2 separate regions of the Homo sapiens genome follow, and region 1 is linked to region 2. Evidence: promoter capture Hi-C in 16 types of primary human blood cells and fetal thymus (Javierre and others, 2016). All regions are on one chromosome and are shown on one strand. Each heading gives the region's core, a stretch centred on a gene start or on the middle of the fragment in contact. The rest is flanking DNA. Distances are from core to core; before and after follow the strand shown. Region 1 overlaps SCAF11 (SR-related CTD associated factor 11). Region 2 holds the start of TWF1 (twinfilin actin binding protein 1).

The links. Contacts are between HindIII fragments. The CHiCAGO score rates a contact against its expected background, and 5 or more counts as called.
Region 1: a fragment that was not itself captured here is called in contact with the fragment with the promoter of TWF1 in region 2 in 1 of 17 cell types (monocytes); the score reaches 7.5 in monocytes.

What each region holds. Positions count from the first base shown.
Region 1 is chr12:45,986,569-45,989,997 of GRCh38, reverse strand. All of the region lies in intron 1 of SCAF11 (SR-related CTD associated factor 11), which reads left to right. Among named protein-coding and RNA genes, the nearest start is that of SCAF11, 2.3 kb to the left of the region's middle. RefSeq lists an enhancer at 81-130 and silencers at 281-350, 3,246-3,295. The HindIII fragment of the contact is 7,512 bases long and covers 1-3,429 here.
Region 2 is chr12:43,804,463-43,808,026 of GRCh38, reverse strand. TWF1 (twinfilin actin binding protein 1) reads left to right here and starts at 1,710. Exons shown (of 9, transcript NM_002822.5): 1 at 1,710-1,806; 2 at 3,455-3,532. The coding sequence starts at 1,782. It also overlaps a transcript of TMEM117 not described here. RefSeq lists a silencer at 1,535-2,014. The HindIII fragment of the contact is 5,668 bases long and covers 1-2,865 here.

The sequences.
Region 1 (3,429 bases), core at 749-3,248, 2.2 Mb before region 2:
CAGGGTCCTACGGGGGGGGGGGAAGGGGCTCCACGCCAGAACCGCCACAGACACCCTCCTCCCTGCAGTGGAAACGTGTCCTGCTGAGCTTCCGGGCGCTCCCGACCGCGGTGTCGGCTTTTCTTGGGAGACTTTGGTCGCGAGCGTCCAAGCCCGCTAGTGAAACCAAACTTTACTACGCCGTGACCTCTCGAGTGCGCGAATGGGGAAGAGCCGGCGCTTCTAAGCATCAGCCTTTTTCACTCCTTGATCTGAACTTCAAACTACTCATCCACCCCCAGTGTTTTAAATTCGCTACCTGGGCTGACAACTACGGGGCCGGGAGATATAAATTTAGCCTAATCAGTCGCCCCTTCTGAGACCTAGGAATTTTGAACCATTAAAAAGATTTCCTACAGATGGCTGGCGGTCTTGCCACCAACACGTATTTTGAAGTATTGTTTCAAAAGTAGACGCCTGATTTAGAGTACTTGATTTAGACATTCACGGATTCAAATGTTGAATTTTGAAATACTTCCAATATATTTCCGTATTGTATTACATACAGTGTCTACCAGCTGACTGTTGTTCATTCATTTTGGATTACATTTTGGCTAACATGCTACCACTGACCTAAGATACTTAAGCAAAACTGCTGAAAAATGTTTTTAATGCTTTGTGTAGTAGATGCTGATGTTAAATTTTTTTCTCCGATTTGGGAATTTTCCCCGAATTTTGGGAAAAGCATATTAATAAATGCATTATTTTTTCGTTTTAAAAGAAAAATTAATTTCTACATATCACCACCTACCTCAGCAGCAGAATATCAGGGCAGTACATTTTAAAATAACGGTTGGTTTTTGTATTTTATTAGTAATTGTATTAAAATTTTGACATGTAATCAAGTCTGTTTCTAAACAATTGCTTTCTCTTTCCTGTTTCTTTGGCAGTTGGCTTGATCATGTCACTATTTTGGTTAAAAGATGCAAGAAAAAGTTCATGGGCCTTTTGTTTTTGTTGTTTTAACTAAGCAAGAGAAATGAAATCTTGAAACTGTCTTTGGATTTCTTTTGTTTTATATTATCCTATCGGATAATCTGAATTTATATTTTTTATGCAATGTGAGTTTTTTAAAAACAGTTCTTAGGGTAGCTGCATTTTAGCTATAATATTTTTTGGTGCTTGCAGATATTTTAACAGTCATTCAGTTTTTCACATTCAGATAGTGAACTTTTTGCCTGAGAGTTTGAGTACATTTTAAGATTTCACTGGGGTAAAATTTGAATGTTTGCTTACTGTAAGTATACTCATGCTTTAAAGACATTCTTCAGTATAAAGGGGAAGAAAACTGTAGAAGAAAATTTAAAGTTTCTAAATATGTTGCCAGAAAACATGTCATGGAGAAAATTTTACGGATAATTTTTTAATTTTTTCTGTTAATACCTTCATGTGGTAATAGGGCTAGTGTGTTAAGATCGAAACTTTTCAGGAGTTACTTAGCTCTCTATCGTCCTTTGGCACCAACTAGAGCTTAGACAGTTTTCTGGAAAACCTGTGCTTTTATTCAGCAGAGATAGGATGAATCAGTGCAGTTACATGATACTGTTGATTCATCATCAGTAACATCTTTTAGTAATCAGAAAATACAGTACTATACTACCCATCAACTTAATACTGAACTTTTAAAGTATATCAGAGATAGTTGTAGCACCTTAATTAAAGAGAGTAGCAGGCATAAAAGTAATAAAAAGAAAGTCAACTGTAGAATAATTTTCATTGTAACTTCCCTTTAGCAAGCCCTGCTATCACCTGCTTTTGTCTTTTAAGATGTAAATTGTACCTTGACTTACCTTGCCCAGTGAAATAAACTTAAAATCCAGATTTTTAATTATACTCTGTCCCCCAAAATAAGTTAATAACCTTGCACCTTGTCTTGCTTCTGAGCAGTAATAACTGTTAGTAGTGCTGAGTAGAGCCCAGAGTTAAAATATCCAGTATCATTCTCTTGCTATTCCCAAAACTCATCTTTGCATTGTATTTTTTTAAGTTGTGTCTATGAACTTAATGTATGAAATCCTAGTACATAGACACATAAAAATTCAATACATAACGTAAAAACACAACCACTATTTTGCTTTCAAAAATATCTTCCTAAAAAGTCACTGTGACCTTTGCTGATCTACAGTCTTTAACACTCCATAGCCAGAGTGATCCTGATAAAATGTCAGGTCATGTAACTTCTTTTCTCAAATGGCTTCCCTTCTCAGTCATAGTAAATTCCATACTCCTATGGTCTACAAGGCTCTATGATTTAAGTCTCTTCTTCCTCTCTGACTTCATCTCCTCACCCTTTCTCCAATCTCCTTTCCCCTACGCTGTTGTGGTCTTCTCTAACTACTGTGTATAAAACAACAGCCTTCCCCCGATATTTTGTATCTGTTTTTATGCTAGATTTTTCTCCATTGCATTTATCATTTTGCAACATATTGTGTAATCTAACTTAGGTTTATTGTTTATTTTCTTCACTGTGATTTATCTTCTGTGAGATCAGCATTTGTCAGTATTTGTCACCTAAACACCTGAACAATGCCTTCAGTGTAAGTTAATGAATTAACCTGCTTTCAGCTGTAAACGTTACAAATAGTGATTGTGGTTTGAAACTTTAGACTAAGCAAGTCTCAGTCTGTAGCATAAACTGCCAAGTTACTTATATCCATGCATGTGGGCCATGTTCATTTCAGGGGTCCTTGTTTTTTGTTGTTGTTTGTTTTGTTTTTGCTTTCAGATAGCATCTCGCTGTCTCCCAGGCTGGAGCGCAGTGGTGTGATCACAGCTCTCACTTTGGTGCCCAGGCTGGTCTCAAATTCCTGGGCTAAGTAATCATCCCGCCTTGGCCTCCCAAAGTGCTGGGATTACAGGAATGAACCACCACACCCAGCCTAAGGGGTCTGTGTTTTTAGAGGAGTATAACAGTATGTGACCTTGAAACTATCATTTGTCTTAATATAGAAGGAGCTAAGAATGCCTCAGCTAAGAGTAGAGCAGTGCATTAGCCTGATTTCATGCTGCTGACATACCTGAGACTGGGAAGAAAAAGAGGTATAATTGGACTTACAGTTCCACATGGCTAGGGAGGCCTCAGAATCTTGGTGGGAGGAGAAGGGCACTTCTTACATAGTGGTTGGTGGCAAGAGAAAATGAGGAAGATGCAAAAGCGGAAACATCTGTTAAAACCATCAGATCTTGTGAGACTTGTTCACTACCATGAGAACAGTATGGGGGAAACTGCCCCCATGATTCAAATTATCTCCCAACAGGTTGCTCCCACAACACGTGGGAATTATGGGAATACAATTCAAGAGAGATTTGGGTGGGGACACAGCCAAACCATATCAAGCAGTATAACTATCTTATTGTTAAAAATGTTGTCATTTAGAAGCCATATTAATT
Region 2 (3,564 bases), core at 461-2,960:
TAAAAAACAAAACCTGCTATTTTTTTCAGCTCGTCACACAGGATGTTGGTACTCAAAATAAGTCTATTATATATTATTTGTAAACTGTAAACTACCATACAAATCTAAGGTATTATTCTCATGACAGCTCTGGCAAATGTTCACTAAATGGAGACACAATAGATGAAGAAAAGTGGGAAAATATTTGTGGCTAGAGCAGAGCAAGGTACCCAAGACGCTTGCAGCTTTTAAGTCAAACTATTGTACTGGCAGTAAATAAGCACTTTCTGGTGGCTGTCAGGGTGGTCCCAACCTAACTAGACATTCCTCTTCTTCAGGACTGAGAATACAGTGGCCTTTCCCAAGCACGAATATGGAAGGATTATATTTTGCTCAACTATACTTTTGAGCAACGCCAACTTCCTTAAGCAATTTCCCCGAAGCACTAGGACATGAATCAGTCAAAATACTGCAAGTCAACTCTGCAATTTTCTCTCTGCTCAGCAATGTAGTCAAAAACTGGTAAATCAGGGTGAACCATTGTGTCAGGAAGAATTTGATTAGAATGAAACTCCTCCCTACATTTCTTAAATCCATACAAGTCATAAAACTCAGATTTAGTTTATTCCTGAATATGAGAATATGTCTGAAAAACAGAGCTCAGATAACAGGCAATAGAACATAACCTTGTTTGCTGTGATTCTTGTAAAGAAAAACAATTGCAGGCCTGTTCATCACTCATGAAAAATACATCGTATAGTACTGGAACAGTGATTAACTTGCACTTATATTATTGACCTGAATAAATTATTTCTTCATTAGCAGATTATAATTTTGTGTATGTGTCACTTCAAGGCCCTAAAAATAAGAACTAGCTTCCCACCTAGTAGCAGTAGAGAAGCAGTACCAAAAAAAAACCAAACCCCCCACAAAACTAACATTACCTTTCAGGAAGGAACTACATGTTTGTAAAAGCAGGAAAGGAAAAGATTTTTAAGTAATATCTGCTGCTACCTTACAAATCTGTCCAAGTGAATTTTGAATAATTACTGGATTAAATAATAAACTGCCAACCTAAAGCAGAGCAGGATTTGCAATGGTATAATCGACCACAGAGGGATACTCAAATCAGCTAATCTCTTAGTGGCTGTCTCTTTCCGGAGTGAAGAGAAAGATACACTGAGTCTCTAAATGTGTCCAGCTGAAAAGAAAAGTTAACAGTCTGAGATTAACTTAATTTAAAATCGTGGAAAAATTTGATGAGAGGCAGTCTATATTAATTCTTTCAAAACAATGGAGCAAGGAGAAGGCTTTTCTACACTAAACGGTATCGATTATAGGAAGAGTAAACCAAGAAAAATAATGTGCACATCTTTTTTAAGCTGGAAAATGCCTATTTGGTAAAATGATCACTTCCGTTTTTGAGCACCCCTTTGCTGAGGCAGCGAATGGCGGCGTCGGCGGGGTTGTCAGAGAGCAGACGTCGGAGCACTGAGCAGTCTAGATTCTGCGGCATGTCCCCCCCGGAAGAAGCGGGAGAGGCGGCGGCAAGAGCAGAAGCAGGACCCCAAGCAGAGAACTAGGATAGCGAGGCCGGGGGCTGGACCGCAGCCCGGCGGCCAGGAAGGGCGGCGGGGCGGCGGGGACGCTCGGGCACTCAGTCAACCTCACGGGGCGGGGCGGCCGCGGGTCGCGGGCGGATGACGCGCCGGGGCCGGCGGAGGAGCAGCCACTTCCTGGGGCCGCCGGCCGGGGCCGCTGGCTGCACTCAGCGCCGGAGCCGGGAGCTAGCGGCCGCCGCCATGTCCCACCAGACCGGCATCCAAGGTAACAGCGCCCGGCGCGACTCGCAGGGAAGGGGCTTCCGGGAGAGCCGGGAGAGCCGGGAGGGCTGCAGGACCGGCAGGGCTGGAGTCGGGCCGGGAGCTCCGGAAGTCGGTCTCGCGGGGCGAGCCGGGCCTCGGCGCCTCTCCGCGCTCCTGCTTCCCGGGCGCTGCCGGCCTGCGTCCTCCTCCAGCCCGGTCCCTGCTGCCGTCACGTTGCAGATTGATCCGAAATTCGGGGGAGCGAAGGAAATTGGCTTTCGAGGCGGCCTGGTTGAAGGGGGCGTGCCTTCCACCGTCCCCGACAGTCGCCCAACTTTCCCCCTTTTGGTCACGTAGGGAAGAGCTGGGACAGTGGAGGCGACTGGGGCTTCAGTACGCTGTCGAGAACCAGGCGAGTTTTCTTTTTCATGGTCCAAAGGAGAATATTACAGGACTTTGATTACAAAAAGAACCATGCCAGAATCTTTCTCACATCAGTAGGGGTGCTTCCCAAAACTCTCCCGCATTTTCTCTCCAAATAGGAAAATGAGAGTTATGTTCTGAGAAATCTCGAGTGTAAGCGTGTGTTTTGATCTTTTTCCTAGATACTCCCCAAGGGAAACTGATCTGTATGGTTGCATGTAATGCGTGCAGACAGTTCAATATGCAGTTATATCTGACCTCCATTATTTCCTGGTTTGAAATTGGGCAGCCTGCAGGTACTCACCTCATCAAGAGTCAAATAATATATCCCCGGGTTACTCGCGATCACTTAACGAGTTCTAGTGTAAACTCAAGCTCTTACTGTTAATAGCGAGTCTTTCTCCCAGATGAACACTTAATTGTATGTTTTATTCGTAAAGATTTTTGACACCACCGCACACATCCCCCTGCACGCACGCAGAAGCAAAATAGTCTCAAATCTGAAAACTTTGTTTTATTTATCCGCATTAATTTCGATATATAAATATGTAGTTATTGACTCTCATGCTTGAGCCTTATAGCAAGCACTACCTACTTACATAGTGGTTCTTGCTGCTAATAGACAACACAGGAACGAAATTAGAACGAAATTGAAGCTTTAATAGGAACACAAGGGTTAGTTATTAAATACATATTTATTCAATGAGTTTAATCTAGCTTTTGAGAAATGCAAGTTAGAAAAATATAACCAGAGTTAAGACTGAATGCATTTTATTGTCTTTTTCTTTAAACAAGTTAGGATATTTGATATATACTGTTGTTTTTAACGGGAAAATACAGAAAGTGAATTGATGAAGGAGTGTCTGTCATAAGCTTGAAACTGAATTAGAGAATGAAAGCAGGTTTTCAATATTTTTCAAAAGAGCAAGAAAAGTTTTTCAAAATTGTAATTTGCTCATTATTGGGTTTGAGTAACTTCAGTATATTCACCCCAGTGTTATTTCTGCACAGAATTATGTAGCTAAAACAGATTAGAATTATTAACATACTTTTAAAATGCTAATATTTATATTTCTTAATTGTATACAGTCTTCGTTATTTTATGCGGTAAAGTTTTATAATACTGATAATAAGGATGCTACATGCTCCAGATTTTTTCTTTGTATTCTAATTAACTTTTCCAATATAGATAGGAAAGTATTTATATGTAAGTATAAAAAGTTTACTTTCTTTATCTTTTTCCACAGCAAGTGAAGATGTTAAAGAGATCTTTGCCAGAGCCAGAAATGGAAAGTACAGACTTCTGAAAATATCTATTGAAAATGGTTAGTTAAATATTTTAAAATATTTTCTGTTC